Linked DNA regions of Homo sapiens: regions 2 and 3 are each linked to region 1. The links are contacts of gene promoters, found by promoter capture Hi-C in blood cells and fetal thymus (Javierre and others, 2016). All regions are on one chromosome and are shown on one strand. Each heading gives the region's core, a stretch centred on a gene start or on the middle of the fragment in contact. The rest is flanking DNA. Distances are from core to core; before and after follow the strand shown.

Region 1 (4,171 bases), core at 619-3,118:
ATGAACCCGAGGAATGAAGATTCATCTGCAATTCAAAGCAACACACAAACACACACACACACAGAGACAACAGATGTAGAAATAAAAGTGTATATTCCTTATTTCTAGGAAATTCCACACAAACACTTTGCACAGTTTTGAATGTTGGGGCAAATATATAGTCTTATTCACGACTTAAGGCCACACACCGACCCATACACCTTGTCAGGGCTCCCTTCACCTCACTGTTCTTCACACTGTAGATGAGGGGGTTTAGTAAAGGGGTGAACATAGTATAGAAGGCTGACACAACCTTGTCGTGGTTAGTGGACCTGTGGGATTTGGGTCTCATATAGGTAAAAATGGCAGCTCCATAAAAGAGTCCCACCACAGCCACATGTGAAGAGCAGGTGGCAAAGGCCTTCTTGCGGGCTTCTGTAGAGCGCATGTGCAGAACAGCAGCGAGGATGAGACCATAGGAGGACAGGATGAGGGAAAAGGGGACCAGGAGCATTAACACACAGCAGATGTACATGGCGTTTTCGAAGACTGAAGTGTCAGCACAAGCCAAACGCACCAGCACGGGGGTCTCGCAGAAGAAGTGATCGATCTCGTGTGCACCGCAATATGGGAAGCTCAGGGTAGCAACAGCCTGCAGGAGCCCGTCAGCTGCACCCAGGAGCCAACACGACAGGTTCATCCTCAGGCACAGCTGCCAGCTCATGAGAGTGGGATATCGGAGTGGGTGGCAGACAGCCGCATAGCGGTCATAGGCCATGGCTGCTAAGAGGAAGCACTCTCCACCACCCAGTGTGGGGAGGAAGAAGATCTGCGCACCACAGCCAGCGCGGGAGATGGCCTTACTTCCGGTCAAGTAGTCAGCCGCCATTTTGGGCACAGTGGTGGAAACCAGCATCACGTCCATGAGGGAAAGTTGGCTCAGGAGGAAGTACATGGGCGTGTGGAGCCGGTGGTCCCAGTGAATCAGGAGAATCATGAGGGAATTGCCAAACAGGGAGGTCAAAACGATACTCAGAACCATCATGAAGAGGACTTGGTGGGCTCTGGTGTGGTTAAAGAGTCCTAGGAGAATGAAATAAGAGGTATAGCTCCCATTTTCCATGATTTCAAATAAGAGTGACACTGCAAATGGAGAAAAAGAAGACAGAGTGTTTATCCTTTATGGTACTCCATTTGAGTTACGTAGTAAAAAAATAGAAAAGTACTTGTGTGAAAGCGATGAAACCTATGTCAAATCTTTCATTTGCCACTTGCAAAATGTTCTAATTTGTGCATAAAATTAATTAAACTTTTTCTCATTTCCAAGGATTTCATAATAAATGCTTCTCAGGCTAAGTATTGATTAATTTTATATCACAAATCCACGTTCTGGATAAGTTGCAAGTAACCTGTCAGAATGGTTTTGCTTTATCTGGTACCATCATAAGTGAGTGAGAATGAAATGATTCACATAATTTGTCACTTTATTTGTGCTTGAGTTACATCATGCATAGTCAATATTTTAGAAGCTGAATTAAGTCAGTATATTTCATTATATAAAACTACATCCTTGACTGTGAAGGTTGTGGGTCTATAACATATCAAAACTCATTGAAACCTACCAAAATCAGGCAGTTTTCCCTGACTTAATCCAAGAAGACTTTTTTTCCTTTCTAAAGAGGGTGACTTATATTCTCAGGTCTGGAAAGGCTGAGTCTGCAGATGAAAACATAGTTAATTTGGAGTTGTGAACACATTTAGTCCTCCTTTATAGGTGATAGACTGAAAACAGTACTGACCTTCTTGGATATTTTTTATTTCTTTGCAGTGTAAGAGTATAATGGTAAACACACATTTTCATTAACTGTACAAGGTACTTTGTTGCAATGAGACTTTTTCTCATCAGTCCACAAGTATAACCTTTACCAGGTAAAGGAGAAAAAAGAAAACTAAGATCTTTATCCAATCACAGAGATAAATTAATGTCTTCTTCAGTCTCAAGAGAAATGAAATCTTTATAGACATTTTCATCTTAGATCTGCTGGTGCAGGAAGTTTTCTACCTTGTTGAATAAATGTCGCCACACCTGCAGAGGTATTGATGCTGATTCAATCTCAAGGATATGGTCTAATTCAATAAAGTTATATGGCAGAAGGAGCCCATCTCTTCCATGCGCATTCCCTTTGCCTCCACTTTTTGTATCCACCCTAAACTAAAATGCCAGTCACGACTGGGAAAGGCAGTGCAGTTGCGTCAGTCAATACCAGAGTGCATTACTTGAGCATCATAATTGTACGGGCAGCACAATACCTGAGGGTTTTATTTGGTTGTTTAAAATTTAAACATCATGGAAATATACATATGTCCTTCTTGACAAATAAATTCTGCATTTGACAAAACTTTGTGATCTTCACACCTTCGTATCTCTAACATGCTCTATTTTTTTCTTTTTACTTCTTAGAAAATGCAATAACATGTACTTTCTACACGTAGGAACTATACAAAATCTCTAATTACAGCCCTTAGTGTCACTTTGCTGAAAGACCTCAAAACCCTCCTGACTCATTTCTTTCACTCGATATCTTCCATTTCTCCGTTTTCCCAACCTTCCTTAGTGTTGAAGCTTGATCAACTTTAAATATCTTTTAAAAAATCAGTCTGTAATGTCATAACTGTAGGGTGTTGGACAAGTTTCTTAAATTATTTTTTCTATCATATTAAATATTTTTAAGGCACAATCAGTACAGTGGCTTCAAGTATAATCATATTGTTGTATGACCATCCACAATATCCATCTATGAATCTCATTTCACCTCCCTAAATTGAAATTCTGTACCCACTGTGAAATAACTCCCCATTCTTCTCACACACAGCCCCCAGCAACCACCATTCTATTTTGTGTCTCTATAAATTTGAGTGTTTTAGAAACCTCATATAAATGGAATCATGTGGTATTGTGTGTGTGTGTGTGTGTGTGTGTGTGTGTGTGTGTCTGTGACTGGCTTATTTCACTTATCATAATGTCCTCAAGGTTCATCCCATGTGTCAGAATTTCCTTCCAAAGGGTGAATACTATTTCATTATCTGCATATATAACAGTTTGTTCAATTATCCAGTCATAGCCATTAACGTTGCTCCCACTCACTTCAGCTGTATGTTTAAGTATCATTTTAATGGAATGTTTCACGACAGATGTTAGTTTTTTTTATTTTGGTAAGGTAAACATATATAGCATAAAAATATAGCAATTGCAATTAATTAGCCGCTTAAATTGTGCCAGACTGGTTCATATGTTTTCAGAGAATAATCTCAACAACTTGCATGACTTTTCAGTTCAGGAAATACATTTTCTTATTATGAAGTTCCTACTATGGTTAAATAGTTTGTAAAATTTGATGTCATTAGCTTGTACCTTTTCAGTGAAAATAGATAATATTTCTATTCTTTATGTTTATGTGGAATAAAAATTCTTTATTTCCAGGTGTATAAAAATTATCAGTTTGTATCAGTCTAACTGGTCATCATGCCATAGCATTCAGATTATTTCACGAAATGATTAATTAAATGTGTTAAATAAAATTAGTAGATAACTGTATTTTTCTACGATGTGATAATATTAAATTATTTGCTTTATTGAAATTACTGTCTATATTTTTATGTTACAAAGCTAAGATAATTTGCCACTAATTAAAATGTTTATAAACCTACAAAAATGATTATTTGGGATAATTTTTTTTAAAAATTGGCCATGGATACAAAGAACAGTTAAATGAAAAATGAAGAATTAAATAATCTTGCTAATAAAATGTCTATAATTTCATTTAACAGAGGGTTGAAAATTCAAGATTGACTAGTGTAGAAAGAAGTATGATAAAGTATTACCCTGAAAAATAAATATTTTCCTTTTCTTTCTTCACTATAGCTTAGAAAGCTAGAGAATTTTGAACTATATTTTCTTCTGTCCCCATAGTTTCTTACTTAGAATGGTGATAAAATGTGGACATTTTTACTTTAAATCACACTGATCTCTTTTGCAATGCTAGTAGAAGGCACGTATATATCCCTTCCTTTTTTCTCATCAATAATTCGTCAAGTAATCACAGAACACTGAGAACAATGCCTCTAACATTCCATTCTGTGCTTTTCTGATCCCTGTTGCCAAAACTTAATAGTAAAACTGTAACTCTCCTCC
Region 2 (4,680 bases), core at 567-3,066, 180 kb after region 1:
TCTACCAAGCACACATGAATCAAATAGGTAAAATGCAATAAAATTGAGTACATTTTTTAAACTGTAAAAGTAAGTTGAAATCATAACTTTAAGTTAAAATTACAACTTTTACCAAATAGTGAAAATCAGAAGCTATAAAGAACGTTGAATCGATAAAACCTGAGATGCAATGCAAAATCTAGGACAATAAAGCAGAAACTAACTGAAGAGAATGCTGGAAAAGATAGGACAATAAAGCAGAAACTAACTGAAGAGAATGCCGAAAAGATGAAAGCTTTTTGAGGTATGAGAACCTCATACAAATCTCATGCAATGCATGTGGATCTTCAGAACAAGAGTAAAAATCATTGAAGTTGTCATAGGAAAACTTTAATTATTTCTACATGAATAACAGATGTCAAGTGAAGAAGTATAGGAAAAGAGATGGGCACGGTGGCTTACGCTGTAATCCCAACACTTTTGGAGGCTGAGACCAACGGATTGCTTGAGGTCAGGAATTCAAGACCAGCCTGGCCAACATGGTGGAACTCCGTCTCTACTAAAAACACAAACAAATAGCTGGGCGTGGTTGCATACACCTGTAATCCCAGCTACTTGGGAAGCCGAGACATGATAATTGCTTGAGCCAAGATCACGCCCCTGCACTCCAGCCTGGATGACAGAGAGAGATTCCGTCTCAAAATTTTAAAAAAAAAAAGTGCAAAAATTGTAGGAAAATAGTTGCTTTCTATTTCTATTAAAACTGACTGCTTGAGATTATCAGTAGCAAGACTCCATGACATTTTTATCCCAAAATAGAGATAATTTTAAACAGCTAGTGGATGGCAGAACAACAACAACAAAAAAAGTTACTTCCCATCTTCAACTTTAGTCATCTTTTCATTACCCCACTGCTTCTAACATTCCACAGGACTTTACTCAGAGCGGATTTAATGTCCTTGTTCTTCAGACAGTAGATAACAGGGTTCAAGGTTGGAGGTGCGACAGAATAGAACACAGACACCAGCAAGTCTAGAATAGAAGGTGCATCAGACCCTGGCTTTAAATAAGCAACAGCACCTGTTACAAGAAACACAGTGACAACAATGAGGTGAGGCACACAGTTGGAAAAGGCTTTGGATTGTCTCTGTCTCTGTGATATCCTTAACACAGCAGAGAAAATGTACACATAGGAAACTACAATGCAAACTAAACATGAAAATGCATAACAGACCCCAATGGCCACACTGACACTAATGATGGCATGTTCTTTAGAACAAGTGAGCTTTAGTAGGGCAGGGACATCGCAGAAGAACTGATGTAGCTCATCAGAGCCATAAAAATTCAGAGAGAATGTTCCAGCTGTGTACAAGAGTCCCAAGGCCCCTCTGTTGAGCCAGGACAGAGCCATCAACTGGACACAGAGCCCTCTGCTCATGACAGCCTCACAGTGTAGGGGGCAGCAGATGGCAGCATAGCGGTCATAGGACATGGCAGTAAGGATGCCAATCTCTGATCCAGCCAGCAGTACCACCAAGAAGAGCTGCAACACACACCCCAGGAAGGAGATGGAGTCAGTGGAGGCGACAGAGTTGAGGATGGATTTGGGGACTGTGGCAGAAATGAGACACAGGTCTAAGAAGGACAAATGTCGGAGGAAAAAGTACATTGCCATGTGGAGACGATGGTCCAGAATCATGAGGAGAATGATGACTAAATTCATCAGCACAGCCGTGAGGTAGATCAGTGAGAAGAGCAAAGCATGCAGCCTCAGGAGCACCCAATTCTCAGTAAATCTCACAAGCAAGAATTCCATCATCTGTGTCTGATTGGTCATAGTTCAAAATTATAAGCGCCCTATGGAGTAAAGGAAAATAAGTGTCATACTAATATTAAAAAGTATCATTTGTTTCTTCATTTGTTGAATGAAGGTATGTGTAGCATCAAGGCCTAGACAAAAAGTTTAAAAATATCAAGCAATTTATATTTCTCATGGACTCAGGTGTAAAACAACTGTGGGTATATCAGTCTAACACTTAGTAGTCCTGGACTAAGATTTATTGTGAAAGAAGCAAAGAACTTCACTTCTCTCCCTCATTACTTGAAATGACTTTTGAGTGATTTTATTTCCTTTGGGAATTACAGGGTTGGCTATGCAATTATATATAAAACTGCAATAGGGCATACATTTTCATGTATAAATATCCCGGTTAATGTAGTTTTGTGTGTATTAAATGTTGTGAATGAAATTTCTGCTTGCTACTTACTGCAATATTTAAAATAGTCATTATCCTCAGGTGATACTCTAATTTACTATCCCCTTCTCACTGAAGGATGTTAAGATTATTCTCCCATTTTTGCATTAAAGTTTACTCCTTTGGTGAAAATGTGATTATAGTATCATTTTTTTCTTTCTTTAGTCCATATACATAGCATAGCACAAAAATTAAAAAGTACTCGTTATTTTCACAAATCAGTTTTCAAATATATAGTGTCATTTTTCATGAAAAGAACAAAAACCTGAGACTTAGCCAGATGATTAACATAATATTCTAGGAAGGATTTAATTAAACACAGGAAGCGACAGACAGGGATATCTACTGCATCTAACCAGAGATGCAGTGTGTCCTCTTATGTGATAGACATTCAGAGATTGTCATCTGAGATCCCTCGCACACCCCAACGTGAGGGAGAGTTTTGGCCATGTTTTTCCCTCAGATCATCTTGTCTTTAGAACCTCTCTTGATTTTACTTTAGTATCACTTCAATGGCAATTTTTTCACTTTCCCCTTTGGTTTCCAGGCCATCTCTAAAACACACAGAACAGAAAACAGGATGGACGGTTTGCTAGTTTGGAAGTAGCTCTTAGGGTATGTAGACACTGCTCTAGGTTTTATTCTCCCCAGCAGGTCAAACAGAGGAGGCTTTAAGTTTGGGGCAGCCATGAACTTGCTCATGTTGAGCTATAAGTCAGGCTCTCCATTATTGCTCTAAAGCTACTGCCAGTGCTTTTTCCAACAAGAACACCCAAAGTTTGCAACATAGCATGAGATTTCCATTTGCTCTTGAGTCTTTTCAACTTAAAAAATATTTTATTTTTGTAGACACAAGAGAGTCTCACTTTGTTGTTCAGCAGTTTTTCAACTGAAAGAGAATGTAGCAGACCATTACAACATACATTCTCCTCCTTCTCTATACACACATATGCACACACACACAGCCGAGAGGATGAGCAAGAATAAACAGAGCTTTTCCAGGATGAGCAGTCGTACCTCTAACCTTCATAGAATATGTCCATTTCAGTACAAGTGATTTTCTGAGAACTAAATTAACAAGTGATTTAAAGTTGAAAAGGGACCAGGCATGGTGGCTCATGCCGGTAATCACAGCATTTTAGGAGGCTGAGGCCAGAGGATCTCTTAAGGCCAGGAATTCGAGACAAGCCTGGACAACAAGATGAGACCCCTCTATGTCTACAAAAATTAAATAAAATAATGTTTTAAGTTGAAAAGACTCATGAGCAAATGGAAATTTCTTACTATGTTGCAAACTTTGGGCTTTCTTGTTGGAGAAAGCACTGGCCCTAGCTTTAGAGCAATAATGGAGAGCCTGACTCATAACATGAGCTAATTCATGGAAGCCCCAAAAGTAAAGCCTCCTTTGTTTGACCTGCTGGGGAATAAAACCTGGAGCAGTGTCAAAATACCCCAAGAGCTACCTCCAAACTAGCAAACCATCCATCCTTGTTTCTGTTGCATTAGCCTGTGTGTTTTAGAGACAGCCAGGGTAGCTCAGTGAGTGAGTGAGTGTCCTTTTGAGTTCCTTCCACCCCAGTGATGTTTGACTCCAATGCTAGATTTTTATCCCTTCAGTCTCATTTTTGATTTATATTTCACCTTATTTCACATGCTTACATATGAAATGAGTGATAGCATTAGTTTAAAAGTCTGTGTGCTTTTCTTTACAGATAACATTAATAACAATAAAGCTTTGCCTCATTATATTTATATACTTATTTGGTCCAGGGAAATTCCACATGATTAAATAAAAATATGCAATCTGAGTCTCAATCAATCTAAAACTGGGAAAATACATATAATACACAAAATAATCCTAAAATCAAGGGGTATCTAAGAAGGCTGGGAAGATAGGGTAAGTTCAGGTTTATATGTTTCTTTACCATTTCTATATCATATTAACAACAAATTTTATCACTTTTGTCAAGAATATGAGGAATGGAGAGAATGAGAGAGCAAAGGGGAAGAGGAGAGGAGAGGAGAGGGGAGGGGAGGGGAGGGGAGGCCTATATGGAGTCTTCAGCTCCGGAAAATGTTTCCATTCTCGAGTAAGATCAACAGAAGCAACATTCATAACAAAGGCTATATGGAATCTTCAGCCCCGGAAAATGTTTCCATTCTCGAGTAAGATCAATAGAAGCAACATTCATAACAAAGGCCGGTGAGAATGCTTTCCCAAACAGTTCTATATTTATTTCAAAATAATTTCAGAAGAGAAGAAAATAAAAATGAAATGTCTAAGTAATTTAGGACTTCTTTTCACAGTTTTTGTTCAAAGAGAGCTCTAGTTTTCAATTCTTAGGGAGATCTAGTGAATGCTGCAAACAGTTTCCTATATGCTTACCGATTCCTGCTTCAAGACCCCAACTCCCCGGGTTAAACTCACGACGATTTTGATTGACCA
Region 3 (4,156 bases), core at 278-2,777, 220 kb after region 1:
TAATTTTAAAATTTAATACAGCAAATCCTGCCTCCTAACTATTTCTGCTCAGTATTTTTCTAGTTGATATTACGTATTTACTTTTTCATGATTTAGGATCATGTGTCTAGCTTGACCAAAAAGCTTGCAGTTTTCATTGCTTTTGTATTAAATGTATAAAAATAACTTTAGAACTGACCATTTCATGAGACTTTCTAACTTAGAACATAGATTACATTTCAATTTATGCAAGTATACTTTTCCATTAAAATTTGTTATTATAAGGTCATTTTAGTTTCACATGTAGTTTTAAGAAATAATACTAAGAGGTTCTTGGTACAGTTTACTAGTTTCTCACAATGGTAACATTTTGCAAAACTTTAGTACAATATCACAAACAGCAATTGACATTGATAAAATTCACAATCTTATTCCAATTTCCCCAGTTTTACTTTCACTTATTTGTGTGTGTGAATTTATTTCTGTATAATTTTATCACATGTGAAGGTTTATCCACCACTGTAGCAAAGATAATAAACAGTTCCATCACCAAAAGGACCTCTTATGTTGCCCTTTTATAGCAACCACTTCCTTTCCACTGCTTATCCTTTATCGCTGGCAACCACCAATCTGTTTCCTTTCCTAACATTTTATTATCTCAACAATGTTTTATAAGTGGATCATACAACTTGTAATATTATAGTATTACCTTTTATTACTCAGCATGGTTTCTTTGAGATTATCAAAATTGTTATGTATATCAATAGTTTACTTCTTTTTATTTCAAGTAGCATACGATGCTATGTATGTTTCACAGTTCATTTAACCATTCACCTATTGAAGGACTTCTGGGATGCTTTCACTTTTTGAAAATTATGAAGAAAGCTTCTATCTACGAGCTTTCATGTACAAGTTTGTAATATATATGTGTATATATACAAATGACATATATGTGTATATATACAAATGACATATATGTGTATATATACAAATGACATATATGTGTATATATACAAATGACATATATGTGTATATATACATATGACATATATGTGTATATATACATGACATATATGTGTATATATACATATGACATATATGTTTATATACCCATATATACATATGTGTATATATACATATATACATCTATGGCATATATGTGCATACATATATGGCATATATGTGCATACATATATGTACATATACATATATGGGACATGTATGCACATATACCTATCTGGGGCATGTATGTGTATACATGTATACATGTATGGGACATTTATGTATGCACGTGTATACATATATGTATGCACATATATGGCATATATGTATATATAGCTATATGGGACATATATGTATATATAGATATATGGGACATATTGTATATATAGATATATGGGACATATTGCATATATATGTATATACATATATGCATATATGAAATATATATGTATATATATGTATCTTCATTCCTGTGGGATTAACACCCAAGAGTAGAAGTGTCGGATTGTATAATAATTGCATGTTGAGTTTTATAAGAACCTGATGAACCTGTTTTCCAGAGGCACCGTACCATTTTACATTCCCACTAGCAATGCATAAGCAATCCAGTTTTTCTTTATCCTGATTTAAAAAAAAAAATAGTCATTCTGATAGCCCGTGACAGTTTAAATTTACATTTATTTAATGGCTAGTCATTTTGAACATATTTTCATGTGTTTATTTGCCATGTGTATATCCTCTCTAGTGAAATATCTATCCATGTCTTATGATCCTTTTAAAATTGGATGTTTATCTTTTTTTTGCAGATTCTTTGGGAATTTCTACATAGACAAAATGTCATCTGCAACTAGAGATTGTTTTCTTTCTTCTTTTCCGATCTCTATACCTTTTATTATTTTTCCTTCTCTTATTATAGAAGCTAGAACTTCCAGTACCTTTTTATTGAGTAAGAAAGATGAAAATGGACATTCTTACCTTGTTCCCTACTATTTGGAAAAGCATTTAGTCTTTATTAAGTCTGATGTTACCTGTAGATTTTTTGTAGATGGTCTTCAGCAGGTTAAGATAATTTGTCTATTTTTGACTTACTGAAAATTTTAAATAAAATGATTATAAATAAGAGCTGAATTTCGACAAATGCTTTTGCTGCATCTTTTCCCTGTTAACATAGTTGATTCTATTAATTTTCAAATATTGAACTAAGCTTGCATACCTGGAGTAAATGTCCTTTGTTGTGTTATCCCATACTTTTTATACATTGTTAGATTTGTTTTCATATTTTGTTAAAGATTTTATATCTAGGCTCATAAGAGTCACTGGTCATAAGAAATAGTGTAATTTTTTTTGTGTGTACTGTTTTTATATTTTCTTTGTTGTATTAATTGACGTCAGGGGTTCAACACCAGCCTGGCCAATATGGTGAAACCCCGTATCTACTAAAAATACAAAAATTAGCCAGGCAGGATTGCAGGTTCCTGTAATTCCAGCTACTCAGGAGGTTGAGATGGGAGAATCGCTTGAACCCGGGAGGTGGAGGTTGCAGTGAGCTGAGATCGTGCCATTGCCCTCCAGCCTGGGCTACTGAGCGAACTCTGTCTCAAAAACAAAACAAAACAAAACAAAAATTAACCTCATAAGATATTGTATAAAATCCACATTAATATTTTCTTTAAAAGTTTGGTCAATTCTTTAGTGAACCATTTTGGACTGAAAATGTCTCTGTCAGAGGCTTTAATTTATAAATTAAATTTCCTTAGTGGTTATGGGAATATTCATATTACCTCTTTCATCTTCGTTGAGTTTAGGTAGTTTACAATTTTTAAGAAATTGGTCTATTCTTTTTTCTAAGTTGTTGAATTTATGAGCATAAAGTTGGTTGTATTGTCTTTTCAATAGCTGAAGGATCAGTAGTGATAGGCCCAATTGGCATGGGAGAGGAGTATCAGGTTTCTGGAGAAAAGAGGTTTCCTTGACCTCTCACTGTGCCTATTTTGGGATAATCATATTTGCTGGTGGTCTTTGGCTACTTTGGGGTCTCCCATGGCAGGGGTCCCCAATCCCCTGGCCACAGACGATTATGGTTCCTGATCTCGCCTCTTGTCAGATCAGCGATGGCGTGAGATTCTCATAGGAGTGTGAGCCCTACTGTGAACTGTGCATGCGAGGGATCTAGATTGTGCACTCCAGTGAGAATCTAATGCCTGATAATCTGTCACTGTCTCCCATCATGCCCAGATGGGACTGTCTGGTTGCAGGAAAACAAGCTCAGGGCTCCCACTGATTCTACATCATGGTGAGTTGTAAATAAATAAATAAATATATATATATATATATATATATATATATATATATATATATATATAATAGAAATAAAGTGCACAATAAATGTAATGCACTTGAATCCTCCCTTAACCTCCTCCACCTGTGGAAAAATTGTCTTCCCCAAAACTGGTCCCTGGTGCCAAAAAGGTTAAGGACTGCTGTTCTAGGGGCTGGGGGATAGAGACTTTCCAGAAATATTACTCCTTTTGGTAGAGTCCCTCTTGCTGGCTCTGCTCAGCAGTAGGGTTAGCAGGTTTAGATGGATTGGAGGGTCTCAGGCCTGACAAGAGTGTAGAGTGCTTCCCTTGCCTTCTAATTGTTAGTGAGATCATTTTGCTCTTGCTCTTATAGTAATGCAGTATGGTTTGACCTGTGGGAGGGTAAGCCTAGCTGGTCTGTGTTTGTTGGTATGTTGGGAATTTAAAAAGATTGGGTCTGTTTCTCCTTCTTGAGTCAAGTGGGGGACTAGGATACCCCATCACTGTGTTGTTCATCCAGTTTTGGGTTCCCAAACTAGGTTGCATTCTTCCTACCACATTTAAACGTTCCTCTGTGGTTTCACTTTTATAGTTGTCCAGGTTTTATATTTGTGCTTAGTAGAGTGGAGTGAGAAGAAATGGTCCATACTGTTCTAGTCCTTGCCTTGTCTATCTGGTATCTTTCAGGATGTTTTATGGTTTTCTTCACATGGATTCAGATCAATTTTTGGTAAGTTGGGTTTTAACTATTCATTACATTTTATGGCTACCATTTGTTATATGAATGCTACTGACTTTTGCATCTTAACTTTATATCCTGCTACCATGTTGAATTATTTTATTGTTGATATTCATTTTATCATTGATTATGGTTT

What was found. Contacts are between HindIII fragments. The CHiCAGO score rates a contact against its expected background, and 5 or more counts as called.
Region 2: a contact is called between the fragment with the promoter of OR14K1 here and the fragment with the promoter of OR2T8 in region 1, in 2 of 17 cell types (endothelial precursors and M2 macrophages). The highest score is 5.9, in endothelial precursors.
Region 3: a fragment that was not itself captured here is called in contact with the fragment with the promoter of OR2T8 in region 1 in 1 of 17 cell types (megakaryocytes); the score reaches 7.1 in megakaryocytes.

Annotation. Positions count from the first base shown.
Region 1 is chr1:247,917,949-247,922,119 of GRCh38, reverse strand. It overlaps OR2T8 (olfactory receptor family 2 subfamily T member 8), which reads right to left and starts at 1,868. Exons shown (of 2, transcript NM_001005522.2): 1 at 1,602-1,868; 2 at 1-1,122. The coding sequence starts at 1,102. The coding sequence ends at 164. The HindIII fragment of the contact is 5,046 bases long and covers 1-2,604 here.
Region 2 is chr1:247,735,751-247,740,430 of GRCh38, reverse strand. OR14K1 (olfactory receptor family 14 subfamily K member 1) reads right to left here and starts at 1,816. Exons shown (of 1, transcript NM_001004732.2): 1 at 872-1,816. The coding sequence starts at 1,816. The coding sequence ends at 872. The region is part of intron 1 of OR14A2 (olfactory receptor family 14 subfamily A member 2); the gene reads left to right. The HindIII fragment of the contact is 3,693 bases long and covers 277-3,969 here.
Region 3 is chr1:247,697,948-247,702,103 of GRCh38, reverse strand. No RefSeq gene overlaps it. Among named protein-coding and RNA genes, the nearest start is that of OR6F1, 17 kb to the left of the region's middle. The HindIII fragment of the contact is 1,321 bases long and covers 867-2,187 here.